5 separate regions of the Homo sapiens genome follow, and regions 2, 3, 4 and 5 are each linked to region 1. Evidence: promoter capture Hi-C in 16 types of primary human blood cells and fetal thymus (Javierre and others, 2016). All regions are on one chromosome and are shown on one strand. The core of a region is centred on a gene start or on the middle of the fragment in contact, and the rest is flanking DNA. Distances in the headings are between cores, read along the strand shown. Region 1 holds the start of SDK1 (sidekick cell adhesion molecule 1). Region 2 overlaps SDK1 (sidekick cell adhesion molecule 1). Region 3 overlaps SDK1 (sidekick cell adhesion molecule 1). Region 4 overlaps SDK1 (sidekick cell adhesion molecule 1). Region 5 overlaps SDK1 (sidekick cell adhesion molecule 1).

The links. Contacts are between HindIII fragments. The CHiCAGO score rates a contact against its expected background, and 5 or more counts as called.
Region 2: a contact is called between a fragment that was not itself captured here and the fragment with the promoter of SDK1 in region 1, in 8 of 17 cell types (M0 macrophages, M1 macrophages, non-activated CD4 T cells and 5 more). The highest score is 9.1, in M0 macrophages.
Region 3: a contact is called between a fragment that was not itself captured here and the fragment with the promoter of SDK1 in region 1, in 14 of 17 cell types (activated CD4 T cells, naive CD8 T cells, non-activated CD4 T cells and 11 more). The highest score is 27.2, in activated CD4 T cells.
Region 4: a fragment that was not itself captured here is called in contact with the fragment with the promoter of SDK1 in region 1 in 7 of 17 cell types (activated CD4 T cells, naive B cells, non-activated CD4 T cells and 4 more); the score reaches 8.6 in activated CD4 T cells.
Region 5: a fragment that was not itself captured here is called in contact with the fragment with the promoter of SDK1 in region 1 in 3 of 17 cell types (total B cells, non-activated CD4 T cells and activated CD4 T cells); the score reaches 5.3 in total B cells.

The regions. Positions count from the first base shown.
Region 1 is chr7:3,299,775-3,302,702 of GRCh38, reverse strand. It overlaps SDK1 (sidekick cell adhesion molecule 1), which reads right to left and starts at 1,451. Exons shown (of 45, transcript NM_152744.4): 1 at 819-1,451. The coding sequence starts at 1,116. It overlaps SDK1-AS1 (SDK1 antisense RNA 1), which reads left to right. Exons shown (of 3, transcript XR_001744897.3): 1 at 1-474. RefSeq lists enhancers at 650-1,150, 1,860-2,371, 2,372-2,884 and a silencer at 1,425-1,974. The HindIII fragment of the contact is 8,975 bases long and covers 1-2,928 here.
Region 2 is chr7:3,911,722-3,914,649 of GRCh38, reverse strand. All of the region lies in intron 5 of SDK1 (sidekick cell adhesion molecule 1), which reads right to left. Among named protein-coding and RNA genes, the nearest start is that of SDK1-AS1, 560 kb to the right of the region's middle. RefSeq lists an enhancer at 2,546-2,928. The HindIII fragment of the contact is 1,452 bases long and covers 647-2,098 here.
Region 3 is chr7:3,890,537-3,893,464 of GRCh38, reverse strand. All of the region lies in intron 5 of SDK1 (sidekick cell adhesion molecule 1), which reads right to left. Among named protein-coding and RNA genes, the nearest start is that of SDK1-AS1, 540 kb to the right of the region's middle. The HindIII fragment of the contact is 3,141 bases long and covers 1-2,928 here.
Region 4 is chr7:3,872,559-3,875,486 of GRCh38, reverse strand. The region is part of intron 5 of SDK1 (sidekick cell adhesion molecule 1); the gene reads right to left. Among named protein-coding and RNA genes, the nearest start is that of SDK1-AS1, 520 kb to the right of the region's middle. The HindIII fragment of the contact is 1,332 bases long and covers 692-2,023 here.
Region 5 is chr7:3,855,784-3,858,711 of GRCh38, reverse strand. All of the region lies in intron 5 of SDK1 (sidekick cell adhesion molecule 1), which reads right to left. Among named protein-coding and RNA genes, the nearest start is that of SDK1-AS1, 510 kb to the right of the region's middle. The HindIII fragment of the contact is 2,581 bases long and covers 226-2,806 here.

The DNA.
Region 1 (2,928 bases), core at 202-2,701:
TGTTTTGGTTTAAAGACCAGCAAACTTCAAAAGAAAACGATGCTAGCTGGCAGGGGTACGTTACGGGTTTTGTCGGGGGCGGGGAGGGGGTGGAGGGAAGCCCAGATTTGGGAAGGAAAGCTCGTTTCACAAGAGATCCCATCTCTCGTTTCAAAAGGTCATTTCCATTCAGCAGATCCTCTTTCCCTATTTCAGAGCTCACCACTGTATTCTAAACAGAAGCCAATAGAGGGAGAAAAACAAAGCCAAGTGCAAAAGCTGTGGGCACTGAAAGTTTTGCTCCACCGGCCGCGCAGCACCCACTTGGGGTCGGGCTTTGGGACTTGGGGGAGTCAGGAGCAGGCGGGGGCTGGGGAGAGGACGAGGCCCTGGGGAGGGGCTGGAAAAGGCTTTTCACAGCGACTGGCACTTGATATTTCCAAGTCTTCTGGATGTCACTCACCGGAAACCAGACCCTGCGGTGCGAAGACTCAGGTACAGACCAGCCCCTTTTTCATCCATGCAATGGGAAGGGGACTCGGGCATCCTTTTAAGGAGCTGAGAAATGGGTCCTCAACTTAAAAATTTTTGTTTGTGCTACTGCGGTATAAAAAAAATAAAACGCAAAGTAGCAGACGGGGTGCAGGCTCTACGGGGCTCCGTTTCCCTCTCCTCCGAGTCTGGCGTGGAGGAGCCCCTGGGCTCCCTAGAGCCCCCAGCAAGGCGCATCCCGACCCGGGCCGGGAAGCGGGGGGACCCCGGACACACTCTCGCTGCTCAAGTTCGCGCCTCCGCGCCCCGAGGCGACGCCCCCGGCCCGCGACCCCGCGCGCACCTACCTTGCGCCAGCGCCCGGAGCAAGTGCAGCTGCAGCGCCAGCAGCGCCCACCAGCCGCGGCGGCCCGGCCCCAACTTTGCCGCCCGCCGCCCGCCGCACCGCCCCGCGCCCGCCGTGTCCCCGCCGGAGGTCTCGGGCGCCGCCCGGGGTCGCGAGGGCTCCGGGCCGGGGCGCGGCGCCAGCGAGGGGCGGGCGCGGCCGGGCGGGGATCCCCGCGGCCGCCCGGGGCCCGCGCGCTCAGGGGGCTCCGCGCCGCCGCCGCCGCCACCGGCCGCCGAGGGCCGGGCGCCCCGGGCCATGCCGAGCAGCCGCCACCCCGAGCGCCGCGCCGGACGGACGGGCGGGCAGGACAGGCGGGACGGCTCCGAGCGGGCGCGGCCACTCCGCGGGAGGCGCGGCGCCCCCCGGCCCGAGGTGAGCGGCCGCCCAGCGCTGAGGGGCGGCGTCCTGGGTCCCCGCGTGAGGGGCGCGGCGCGGGCCGGGGACGAGCCGGGCGAGAAGAAGTTGTCAACGGGGGAAATTCGCGTCCGGCGCTCACGCAGTCCCGAGCCCGCCGCGCTAGCTCCGAGGGGTCCGCCGGGCGCGGAGGAGCCGCCGCCGCCGCCGCCCCCGCCCGGCGCTGAGAAGAAAGTGCGCCCGCCCGCACGTCGCGGTCGCGCTCGCCCTCAGCTGCCGCGGCCGCCGCTCCCCATTCACAGCCCGGCCGCACGCGCCGCCCGCGCCCGCCGCCCGCCGCCCGCCGTTGATTGGCCGAGGGAGGCGGCGCCCGCTCCCAGGGCCCGCCCCCCAGGCCCTCGCTTGTTTTCAAAGTCGCGGCGCCCGCCCGCCTGCAATTTTGTGCCGGCCGCGGCGCCTGGCTCGGGCGGCTTCCCGCGCCGGCTGCGCCCCCTAGGGACCCGTAGTGGGGACTGCAGGCGGCGTCGATTCGGCACGCGCTCCCGTGGCGGGCTCGCGGGCGGGGGTGGTGCATCCTCGCCCGGCCCCGCAGCGGTGCGGGCGCCCGAGTGGGAAGGGCTCAGGTGCAGCAGGACGCGCAGATCGTGCGGCAGCCCAGGGCCGAGGGCGGAATAGGGCGCGCCCCGAGAGGCGCCCGGCTACCACCAGCTAGCTCAGTGCTTGGGGGTGACGCGCCAAGTTACCGTAATTGCAAACACGCGCAATCGGGTTTTTAATTTCTAGCAACCAAAGGCACCACTGGGTGCAAACTCGCCTCCTGTTCAGAGGAGTGGATATGGCATTGTAGAAGCGTCCAAGGTCACTTTTGGCCGGCGCTGGAGGAGGGCGGGGTAGGGAGGGACACATTGCAGGTTTCCCACCGTGGAGTGGGCGAGTCTTGGGGCAGGGTCGGCCAGTGGGAGGGTCTCCCAGGGCGGGACCCGGGAGCCTGTGGGGCTGGGGGTGGGGACGGGCGCCGACGCTCAGCATGTGGTAAGCATTAGCAGAGTTTATGGGGTGAACTAAGCGCACTGGAGGCTGAAAGGCCAGCATTTTTGTGGGAGGAGAGCTGGAGGTGACACGCACTGCCTCTGGAGTTGGCCCGGGAGGAGCCTGGGGACGTGTGATGATGGTCGCATGAGATCATGTAAGAGATGAACGCAGAGGGGCTGGGTGTGAGCCCAGCACGGGGCTGACTCCCCAGGAATCACCTGATGCAGTAGGTTTATTGTCCCAGCCAAGAAAGACCCCGGGCGAGTGGAGAGCAGGTCACAGGGCTGGGGTCTGGGATAGGAGCCAGCTCCTGCTCACAGAGCGCCTATGGTATTTGTCAAATAACTGATTGGTGGCTCAATATTAGCCTCTGTACACGTCCCCTAAGACTTAACAATGACCACGTGAACAAAACAGGGAAACTGAGGTCCAAGTACAGCCGCCGAACAGGAGGTGGTTTCAGAAAGAGGCCTCCCATCTGCCCCCTTTCCACACCATGCTAGGAGGGGCAAAAAAGTTAAAGGAGCCACGGAGTGCCCTGTTCTGAGGATATAGTGAGGGCGCATAGATGGGACGAGCCGGAAGAGGACAGCTCCCCAAGGACATGGGGATGAGACTGGAGGCAGAGAGGCATGTCTGTTTTTATCTTCTGTTGGTAGCAAGGCTGGGTTTCTTCAAACTTG
Region 2 (2,928 bases), core at 123-2,622, 610 kb before region 1:
CATTTTGCAATAAGAGTTGGGAAAGATGACTGAGCACATGCAAGAGCAAGCCTTTGAACTTCCCTAGCTTCATGGTTTCAGCGTGCTTTTTAAAAATAGCTTCAGCAATTAGACCATGTTTGTGCAGCAACTGCAAACATACCATTTCTGAGTTCCAGGAGCATAAAAACCCTCTAAGCCGTTAATCTTAGGTTTTCTCATTTCTGCCACAATCTCGCTGTGATTTCAATGCAGTTTCTCTCTATATGTGCACATGTACACACATTTCTTCATTTTCTCTGAATTTTTGACATAACAATCTTTGCCCCCTCCTGATTTCCGAAAGCAGAATATTATACACATTGAAAAGATTTGACATGAACCCAGTAAGACACAATAACGTAGGATGAGCAGGAATGAAAATAGGCAAGTACGGTAATAATGCAGACAAGCATATTGCAGCAGCAACTTGCACCTAATTATGATAAAGGCATAAATGAACTGTATAATGCAAATGCTTTCAACCAAATATGAGGAAAAGCTGCAAATGGGTTTGCACTAAATGCAAAATGCTAAGCTATCCCCAGGGCTGGGCCTTCATAACCGCTCCTTACCTTTTTCAACATCTGGAGTAGATGCTTCTTCCTTTATAATAGGGCAAGAAGCTTTCAGAAAAGCAGGCACCATCAGGGAAGGGAGTATGGTATAGCAGAGTCAGCCCTGGGCCCTGGCGCTAGTATCACCACTAACTTAATGTGTAATCTGGGGCAAATCAGTCATCTCCAGTCATTTTTATTTACTCTGGCTTAAAGGTTAGTGAAGCAAAAAATAAAGAGAAAATGTGGAGGAAAATCAAAGAGAAATTGTCAGGGGTCAGCATCTGTCTACCCCAAAATATGTTTTCTTATTTTTGCTGGGCTTGGAGAGAACAAGAATAGATGGATGTCAATAAACCACTGGTGAACATACTCAAGGGGGTTTAGGAGAGTTGGGATTGAATGAGGGAAAGGATGTTACCAGAGCACTAACATAGTCCAGAGAAAAGAATGGATGAGGGGAATAAAGATAAGTGTAACAGGGCCGGGCACGGTGGCTCACGCCTGTAATGTCAGCACTTTGGGAGGCCGAGGCGGGTGGATCACGACGTCAGGAGATCGAGACCATCCTGGCTAACATAGTGAAACCCCATCTCTACCAAAAATACAAAAAATTAGCTGGGCGTTGTGGCGAGCGCCTGTAGTCCCAGCTACTCGAGCGGCTGAGGCAGGAGAATGGCGTGAACCTGGGAGGCGGAGGTTGCAGTGAGCCGAGATCGTGCCACTGCACTCCAGCCTGGGTGACAGAGCGAGACTCCATCTCAAAAAAAAAAAAAAAAAAAGATAAGTGTAAGAGAAAGGTCAGAGGAGGGGAGAGGGAAGGGCCAGGAGGCAAGAAGACCGGGAGCCATCTAGAGAACCAGGTACGCTTAGCGCGAGCCAGGAGCTGGAGGCATTTCCATACCGATGCCCTGAAGGCTTCATGGCAGGGCCCCCGGTACCCCTTGCTCTGCCCACCTCCCAGATGCTTCCTTCAGGCAACTCCTTCTTCATTTTAACTGTTTTCCCTGTCATTAAACCCTCCTTAATCACAAGCTCTCACTTTAGAAGGGGAGGGGAAGATGAAGAGAAGAGAAAAACAAGAGCCTGATCCACATCTTGCTTGCCTTCGGCCCTCCACGGTTGCTTTGAGCCCTTACATGAAAACTGTGACTTGCATCTCGTGGGAACAGATGTCGTAGTGGAAAGGTCACTGCACTTTTTTTTGGTTAAGGACTAGAAATCTTTTTCAAGCAAGTCCATGTATAAATAAAGAAATCGGGTCTTCTTCTCCACCCAGCTGCCAAGTCCCTTAGGTCTCCTTCCTCTTCCTTCTGTCAACTGTCTTGAGCCCCCACGGGCCAGACCGTGCCGGTCTCTGCCAGAGGAGAATGATAAGTAAATGCATGAAAAGCCATCCGTGGGGTGGGCCCAGGGGGCAGGAGAGCCCAGAAGCGGGTGCCCCAGCCATGCCTGCCTGGGAGAGGGAGGTATTTGGAGGAGTTGTGGGTGGTTGGCTTCCCTATCTTCAGTCCACTGAAGCTTAGCTTGAGCAATCAGTACCTCTTCCCCGGATAAATATCAAAGCCTCTCACTGGCCTTTCTTCTTGCTTCAGCGCCTCACAGAATGCAATGTTTCTTGAACCACACTCTGTGGCACGCTGGTGTTGTACTTGCTTATTTGGTCATGCAAAAACACTGAGTGCCTACTGTGCACCAGTTACCGTGAAAAAGAGGTTTTGTGGTCAAATACATTTTGGAACTCTCTCTTCTCAGAGTTCACAATACACGCATTAGCATCTGAAAGCAAATTTTGGAATAAATAAAGAAAGCTCCTCCTCCTATAGCCTAAGAAACACATTTAGAAATGGATCCACTGGCTCATCCTCTCTATTACGGAGTCCTCTTCCTAAAACACAGCGCTCATCACGTAGCTCCTCGGCTTTAAACCTTCAACGAGGGAACAAAATAAACTTCGACTCTGCTCAAGCTCCTCTGTAGTTTGGTTTGTTTCCCAGACTTCCTTGGCCGATCCTTTGTTCTAAGTGAACAGGGCCCCCTTGCCCTGCACGCCCCCGCACCTACAAGCTCTTGCTCAAGTTGGCCCCTTCCCTAGAATGCCCTCCCCCACCTCATCTCTGCTCTGAGTCATCCTTCCAGGTGCAAGTCAAACGTCTCCACAGCAAGGTGAGTACTTTATCCAGCTCCCTCAGGTCACATATTTGCACCCTGCACTAGATTATAGCATGATTCACTACTGAGGGAAATTTATAATTTCCCCTTAAGCTCCTCCAGGGCAGGGCCTGCTCCTTGTTCAGCTGACTCATTTTCACATCTGTGTGACCTCCCTCCTCCAACACCTAATACAGAACTA
Region 3 (2,928 bases), core at 203-2,702, 590 kb before region 1:
AGCTACTTGAGTTTGCATGCACCGGCTCATTTATCCCCACAACAAAACTATGAAGTTGATATTATCAGTAGCTCATTTACAGATAAGCATAGCAAGCCAACCGCGGGGGCATTAAGGATCCTCCCCCCGGCCATCCTGACCAGGAGCAGACAGTGCGATTCAGACCCAGGTGGGATGACCCCCGTGCCCATATTCCTAATCACTGTTTTGCTGCCCCAGGCAGAGGCAGAACCGGGGCCGGAGTTCACTGGTTAAGGGATCAGATTTTGACTCAACACAACAAAAAATTTCCTAGCAAAAGGCACTGTATAAAATAATTATCCTACCCACAGCCCTGAGAGTTAGATGCTGTGATGTTCACTTCACAGATGAGGAAACAGAGTCAGAGGGTATATGATGGACCCACACCTGGTAAACGGCTGCCTGGGCTTCCCGCTCAAATTGGCCTGATTCCTAAACTCATGCTCCTTCTACTGCAGCTCGGCCTCCTGGGAAGGCAGCCTGTTCCCTGCCATGTGAAGTGCGCTGGCAGAGATCAGAACGGCATCCTCGAAAGCAACCCACGATTCTGCTTAACTCTTGGTTAATATTGAAGAGGAACTTGAGATCCACAGAGGGAAAGTGGCTTGCTGCAGGGATACGGGTAAGAGGAACTCAGCTTTCCGGACTGCCTCCCAGGTTCTTTCGGCTGCACTGAGCTGGCTGCATAGCTGGATGTCCACCTGGACTGGAGGGCCTCCGGTCTCAGGGTTCATTGTCACACTGTCACACCTGTGCTTCTGCCTTGATAGAAATGCAATATGGCTGTTCTTGATTTGAGGCATGGTGACTCTCTCCTGGGTTTCTTTTTGGAATCTATGCCTGTGAGAGACTGTATCACTTGTTCAAAATGATTTGTCTCTGCCCTCTCCTCATCGTGACTTGCCAGGAGGTGAAGGGTACAGGCTCACCCCATTAACCTTGGGCTTGCCATATGACTTGTGGGAGGAGGGGACGGCTGCCAGGTCCCAGCAGAGGCTTTATGAGATCCTGGGGGTTCCCGCTTCCCCTCCGGAGCTCCTGCCCTCCAGCATGAGAAGAGCAGGGCCCAGATGGCAGCTGCTCATTCAGCCTCAGCCTGGCATGAGGAGACGTGGAGAACACAGCCAAGCTCGGCAGAGCTGCAGCTGACTCGCAGGATTCTTAAGTGAAAAATAAGTGTTTGTTGTTGGAAGCCATGGAGATTTGAGAATTGCTAGTTACTGCAGCAAAAGCTAATACAGAAATTGGTACACAGAAGTAGGGCTGCCATTACAAAAACCTGAAATATGGGTCATTGGTTTTGGGTTTAGGTGATGGCAAGCTGGAAAGTTGTTAAAGGAAGTTGGAAAAATGGCAACCCAAGATATGCAGTGTTAAAACACCCGGCAAAAAAAGAAAAAGAAAAAAGAAATAACCTATGATAACTTAGAAAATTGGCCTAACTAAACTTGTTTTCAAAACAGAATCTTGCCTGTGTGAACTGGTGTTATAGAATGCCTTTGACACCGTGCTATAAGGAAAAAAAAATGCACCTTGCCTCCTCCCAAAAAACTCACTGCTTTGCAAATACAATTGAAAGGGAAGAGAGAAAATACAACATTTTCAGGATTTTAAAGTGAAGCAATTTCTCACCAAATTAAGGTTGGCCGTGAAAGCACAGCCTACGGGTAAAGACCAAATCAAAGATGCAATCATTGGCTCTTGCGCCGAAACCTTTAGTTGGATTATCAAGGTCCCCAATGAAATCTTTCAACTGCACAAAATGGCCTAGAGAAAGAGACCCAGAATTTGGCCTGTTGGAAGCATGATGTGCTCAGTGTACTTGGAATTGAGTTTAGAGAAAGGAGGACATGCACGAAAAATGACTGTAGGCACACGGGGTTGACCGGAATCAAAGAGATTAAAAACAAACAGGACAGCTTCAAAAGGGACAAATCGATAACTACACTTTCGGCTGGATTAACATAGACCGTGGCATTTGAGATCTAAAACGATCCTCGGCATTCATCCTTCCTATGGGCAGGAAGCAGGTTAAGAAATCTGCTCAGCCATGAAGGAGAGCATGTCTTCCAGCACCTTCCTCAGAGGTAGCCATGGAGGATGACAGAAGAGTGCACCTGGCAGAGGGCAGATTCAGAGCCACGAAAACCACGGCCTGGAAAGTCCTCCCCGGGAGCACGACTGAGGCCCAATCGACACCCCCTACTCCCAGCCTACGGGTCCTTGAAATATTTGCCCAGCAGGACACTAGGACTGCTGTGGACTGTGGGGCCTCCCCCATCCTCTTTCCCAGTGGAAGTACCACTGGGCTTATCCTGTCTTTGAGTCTCTACTGTGTTTCCAGTTCTATTCCGGTGCTTGAAGGATGTGCTCTAGACAGTGATGGCTCCACCAGAGCCTGGGTCCCAAAATGTAAAACACATAGAGCCCAGCTAAGGTTAGGCTGGCCTGGTTGGGCCCAGTGAAGCCACAGCCAACTGGTAGACCCATAGTGAAAAATAAATGGTGTTTTGAGATGGATTCTAGCTATATCACCCAGGCTGGAGTGCTTTCGGCTCACTGCAACCTCCCCCTCCTGGGTTCAAGCGATTCTCCTGCCTCAACCTCCCAAGTAAGTGGGACTACAGGCACCCACCACAACACCTGGCTAATTTTTGTATTTTTAGTAGAGACAGGGTTTCACCATGTTGCCCAGGCTCGTCTCGAACTCCTGACCTCAGGTGATCCGACTGCCTCAGCCTCCCAAAGTGCTGGGATTACAGGCACGAGCTACCACACCCGCTACTTTTTTTTTTTTTTAACCACAGCAAAAACAAATACAATATCCCAGCACAATAACCACAGGCCCAATGTTACCCATAGAGACTCAAGTGTTATCTTTTCTTATAATTGCATACAGCAGCTTGG
Region 4 (2,928 bases), core at 108-2,607, 570 kb before region 1:
CCGAGAGCCTTTCCTCTATGTGGGACTAAACAGTTTAATTTGTGATCTGGGGATTATCTTGGGTATTAAAGGAACTAAAGAACGATTTGGTTTTCTGAGAGTGACTTAAAAGGTAAGTGGCAGAAACTGGCTACAGCAAACTTGTGCTTTCAGCTCCTAGAGGTAGAGAGCTGGAAAGAACATTGCTCTCACTCTTACCACAGGAAAAATGCTGGACGAAGTGCAGACTAATGACTTTTCTTGACTCTGTCAGAGAACCAAGGGTACAGGGAAAAAACTAACTCAAAACCTAGAAAATCCAGAAAGAGATAGACATTTCCAGGGAGAAACAGACCCAACCATTTGCTTATCTGGGACAGACACCTTGAACTCACTATAAGCCCATAGGAAGATTCAACTAGAAGTCTGAATAAACTGCCTAAGGCCAAGTATGGGCTAGTGAGCGTGTATAAAGCCCCACAGACCAGGACATAAAGGGGTTAAGAGCCTAGAGTAGGATTTTCCTCCAGGAACCCTAAAGGGTGCTCTCAGGGCAGCTCAATGAGAAACCTAAGACAGCTTCCCCCACTTGGTGCTGGATGTGGGGGAAGAACAGGCACCTCTGCCAAAACTCTCCTGAGACGTATCTCCCCTATGTTCCTGGAAGAACAAAAGCTTTAATCTATAGGGTGAAGGACAAAAAACTAAAGCTTTAAGGCACTGCTAGAATCTTACTGTGGTCAGAAAGAAATGGTAGCTACCACCAAACTCTGCACACACTCATCACCCCCATCTTCCCTAAGGAATGAAAGCCTTACTATGCAGGAGAAAGAGCAAAAAACAAAACAAAAACTGTAGCATGAGGGCAGGGGTGGGATCGCACTGCAGATAGGGCAGGGGAACGGGGGTGGAGAAGGAGTTCTACCCCTGGAAGGGAGGCGGGAATATATGCTAGGCCCAGCATGACAGGTAGGGAAGGAGCAGGAACACTTGTCAGGACTACAGCCTCAGGCCCCAGATTCACAGGCACCTGCCTAAGCCTGAGGCTTAATCAGAACAGAAAAGAATGCCCTCAATCCCTGCACACACATGACCTGCACACACTCAAAAGCACTAAGCAAACATAATTGAAGGATACAGCAGGGGAGCTGCAAGAAGCAGATTCCCTGAGGGGACCAGTGCAAAGAGAAGACTCAAAGTCAAGTCAGGGAAACTCAAAAGACAAATGGGGAGCAGATACGGAGACAAGTCTGAAAAATTATCCCATGCTATGAACACATGATTCCACTAGAGAAACTTAGGCCTCGAGTAGAATGAGGGTAACCATGGCAATGATAAACTTTAAACCTAGCCAAATCTCTGACCAAACGAACAAAAACCTTCATATTAATGGCCCAGTGGAAAGAAAAGCATGCTCATCTCCAACCACACAAAATATTGACCTCAGTGTCTACTGTCCTATTATATGACATAACAGGCTTTCAACAACAACAAAACTATTATGAGGCATATGAAAAAAAGCAAGGAAAAATACTCCACAAAGAGACAAAACAATGATCAGAAGAAGACTCAGACATGACATGTATCTTGGACCTATCAGACAAAGAATTTAAAACAACTATAGCTAATATGTTAAAGGCTCTAATAGTAAATAACATATAGGATCAGACGGGTAATTTCACACAAAAATGGAAACTATAAAAATAATTAAGTGAAAAAGAATTAAATGGAAATGATAGAAATCAGAAAAACAGTATTTAGATTAAAAATGCTTTTGATGGGCTCATGAGCAGACTTGAAAAGACTACTGAACTTGAAGATGGGTCAATAGGAATTAATCAATCTGAAATGCAAAGAGAAAAAACAAGGCAAACAAAACTAAATGGAGCATGCAAGCACTGTGGAAGAATATCAAACAGCCTAACATATACATAATTGGAATTATAAAATCAGAAAGAAAAACAGAAGGGACAGAAGAAATGGCTGAAAAAATAATGGGCTAGGATTTTCCAAAATTAGTGACAGACACCAAATCATCAAAGCTTAGAGGACATCAAGCAGCAAAACAAAACAAAACAAAACACAAACTCTACATCTAGTTATGATATTCAAACTACTGAAAAAGAAGGGACAAATAAAAAATATTTAAGGAAGCCAGAGGAAAAAAAGACATATTGCCTACAGAGGAGCAAGATAAGAAATATAGCAGACTTCTTGGCAGAACTCATGCAAACAAGAAAACAGTGGAATTACATCAAATGTTTAAAGAAAAACATCTCAATACAGGATTCTACACCCAGTAAAAATATCCTCTAAAAGTGAAGGAGAAAGAAAGACTTTTCAGACAAAAACAAATCTCATGGAATTTACTGCCAGTAGACATACTCTTCATGAAACATTAAAGAAAATTCTTCAGGCAAAAGGAGTATGATATAGGTCAGAGACTGGGATAAATACGAAGACATGAAAAGCATCATAAATGGAATAAAGGAAGGTAAATTAAAATTATTTATTTTTAAGTTCTCTAAAAGATTACTGACTGGTTAAAGCTGTAATAGTAAAAATATCTGGTGTGTTGATACTGTATGTAAAAGTAAAATGTATGACAATAATAGTAGAAGGAATGGGAGAGGGGAATTAGAAATACACTGTTATAAGGTCCTTATACTCCGTGTGAAGCAGCATAGCATTATGTGGAGGTAGATTCAGATTTTTAAATGTATATTGTGAACTCTATAGCATCCATGATGAAAGTTTTCAGAAAAAAGGCATTAAATCAGTGAAACCAAAAGCTACTCTTTGAAAATTTCAATAAAAGCAGTAAATTTCTAGGCAGGCTAATTAAGAAAAAAGAGAAGGCACAACTACAATATTCGAGTGGAATATGGTATCACTGCTGATATCACATATGTAAAAAAAAAAAAAAAGATACCAAAAACAATCCTATGA
Region 5 (2,928 bases), core at 267-2,766, 560 kb before region 1:
TCCTTCGTTTTTTGCTTACTTTTAAAGCTTGTACTGGGACTTGTGCTTCCTAGAAGGATGGTACAGATATACCATTCCCTATTCCCCCTGCTACACAACAACAAAAAACCCTGGGTCTTATACACAAAGCAGACATAGACGACTTGGAAAGGTGGGTCAAATACCCTTTTGAAAATTTTTCTACATTCAGTCTTCATCCTTCCTTTCCAGAAAGGAAGTTAAGCTTCTTGTGATTTTTTTTTCCTGGGTATTTTTTGAATTCACTTAGATGTATATACATGTAGTAATAAAATATATAAAGTATTGTTTTGCAGTTTTGTTTTTTTGAGATGGGGTCTCACTATGTGGCCCAGGGTGGTTTTGAACTCCTGGGCTCAGCAATCCTCCCGCTCTTAGCCTCCTGAGTAGCTGGGATTACAGGCATGTGCCACGGTGCCTGACTTATCTTTTGTGTTTTTTTAAAAAAATGATATCATATTATATGTACTGTTTAGCAATTTTCTCTTTTCACCACACAAAAACGTATCTTGGAGGTGTAGCCATTCTCATATGTACAAATTTACCTCATTATCCTTAACTAATCCATTGTATTCCATAGCATGAATATACTATGGTTTAAACCATTCATTATTAAGGCTTCCATATTAACTTCAGAATCATCTTGACAAGTTTCATGATTTACCGAATTTATAGATTTGGGGAGAGGTGACAACTTTACATAATTGAGTCTTTCCATCCATGTATATGGTATATCACACTATTTGTTCCTTTTAAAAATCGTCATTAAAGTTCTATAGATTCTTAACTATTTCTTGATCAGTTTATTCAAAAATATTTAATAGCTTTGCTTGCTACAGTGAATGGTATGTTCCTATTTTACTGTATTTCTATTAAATTTCTCTTATTCCTGATGAACAGGAAAAAGAATTTTTCCATATCTATCTTCTATCTAGCCACCCTTCAGAACTCTCATTAATCCTAATATTCAGTTTATTATCTTAGGTTTTCTTTCATTTTTTTTTTTTGAGACAGGGTCTTACTCTGTCGGCCAGGCTGGAGTGCAGTGGTGCCATCATAGATCACTGCAGCCTTGACCTTCTGGCCTCAAGCAATCCTCCCACCTCAACCTCTCAAGAAGCTGGAACTACAGGCATGCACCACCACACGTGGTTAATTTCTTTTATTATTTTTTGTAGAAATGGGGTCTCACCATGTTGCCAAGGCTGGTCTTGAACTCCTGGGCACAAACAATCCCCCTGCCATGTCCTCCCAAAGTGCTGGGATTACAGGTGTGAGCCGTCACACCCAGCCTGTCTTAGGTTTTCTACGCAAGTAATCATATTGCCTGAAATAATGACAGTTTGCTCTTTTTCTAATATCTATACCTTTTTCTTTTCAGTTTCTTTTTCCCCTTTCTCCTCCTCCTTCCCCTTCCATTTTGTCCTGCTGCACTGACTGTGTCCTGAGTACAATGTTAATAGTAGACATCTTTCCCCAGATTCAGACTTCAAACTTAATGCTTCTAATAATTTATCAGTATGTTGTTTCCAGTAGATTTTTGTTAGATTTCCTCTATTTAGATAAGTTTTCCCTCTATACCCAGGTGACTAAGAGTAATTTTTTTCAGTTAATAGGAGTTGATTTTTTCATAGTGTAATTCTGAACCATCCTTACATTTTCGGGGATTCAATCTACTTGGTTATGGTATACTGATTATGCCTTGTAATTTCTTGGTAGAGCCTTCCTTTTCAGCAGGAAATATCCCTCTTTGTCCCTTTTAACACTGTTTACCTTGAATTCTAAGTTTTCTTATATTAATGTTGCTCAACCTAATCAACATGGTTAATGTTTGACATGTTTTCATACTATGCAATTAAAAAATTTATATCCTATAAGTAGCATATAACATAGCTGTTTTTCGAGGTGGAGTTTCGCTCTTGTTGCCCAGGCTAGAGTGCAGTGGTGTGATCTCGGCTCACTGCAATCTCCGCCTCCCATGTTCAAGCGACACTCCTGCCTCAGCCTCCTGACTAGCTGGGATTACAGGTGCCCGCCACCATGCCTGGCTAATTTTTGTACTTTTAGGAGACATGGGGTTTCACCATGTTGGCCAGGCTGGTCTTGAACTCCTGATCTCAGGTGATCCACCTGCCTCGGCCTCCCAAAGTACTGGGATTGCAAGCGTGAGCCACCATGCCCGGCCAGCTGCTTTTTTTTTTTTTTTTTTTTTAACATTACCTGAAAGGCTCTGTCCTTTAGAGTTGGGTTGAAGTTAGTCTTGTTAGTCAAAATTAGTCACATTTACTGAGATTATTAATCTATTTGAACTACCTGATATTTTATGCACTTATTTTGCCAAAATTCTAGGTTGTTTCATTTTTTAAACCCTCTTTTCATATATTTTCTTGATCAGATTTACATTATTTTTTTCTCCAGTAGTTTGGAAGTCATGAATTCAGTTTCTATTCTTCTACTAGCTACCCTTAAATTTTTAACATTTACAGAAACTTACTTTTTCCTTGTATCTAGACTGAATCAATAAGCATATCCTTCCCTTGAGCAAGATAAGAAAATTAGTATGCATTTTCTTTATTCCTCCCTTACTCCACATCTCTCTTCTCCCCAGTCTTCCAAAATCTCTGGTTGATAACTCTTGGAATGTTAGTTCTGTATTAATGCTATCAATAATAAACATTTAGATTTAACAGTAAGTTTCAGTAAATTCTTTATTATTCATTTTTATGCAGCTTTTTTACTGCTGGAGTACATCATTTATTAATTCTTTCACCATTCATTAATTGAAGCTTTAGAGACTGTGAATGTCTGAAAAAGTCTTATAGTCTTCACTTCATTTTGACCCTTGAAAGGCAGCACAGATTTCCACATTCTTAAGTTTTCCCCTCAGAACTTTGACTAAAAGAGCCTCCA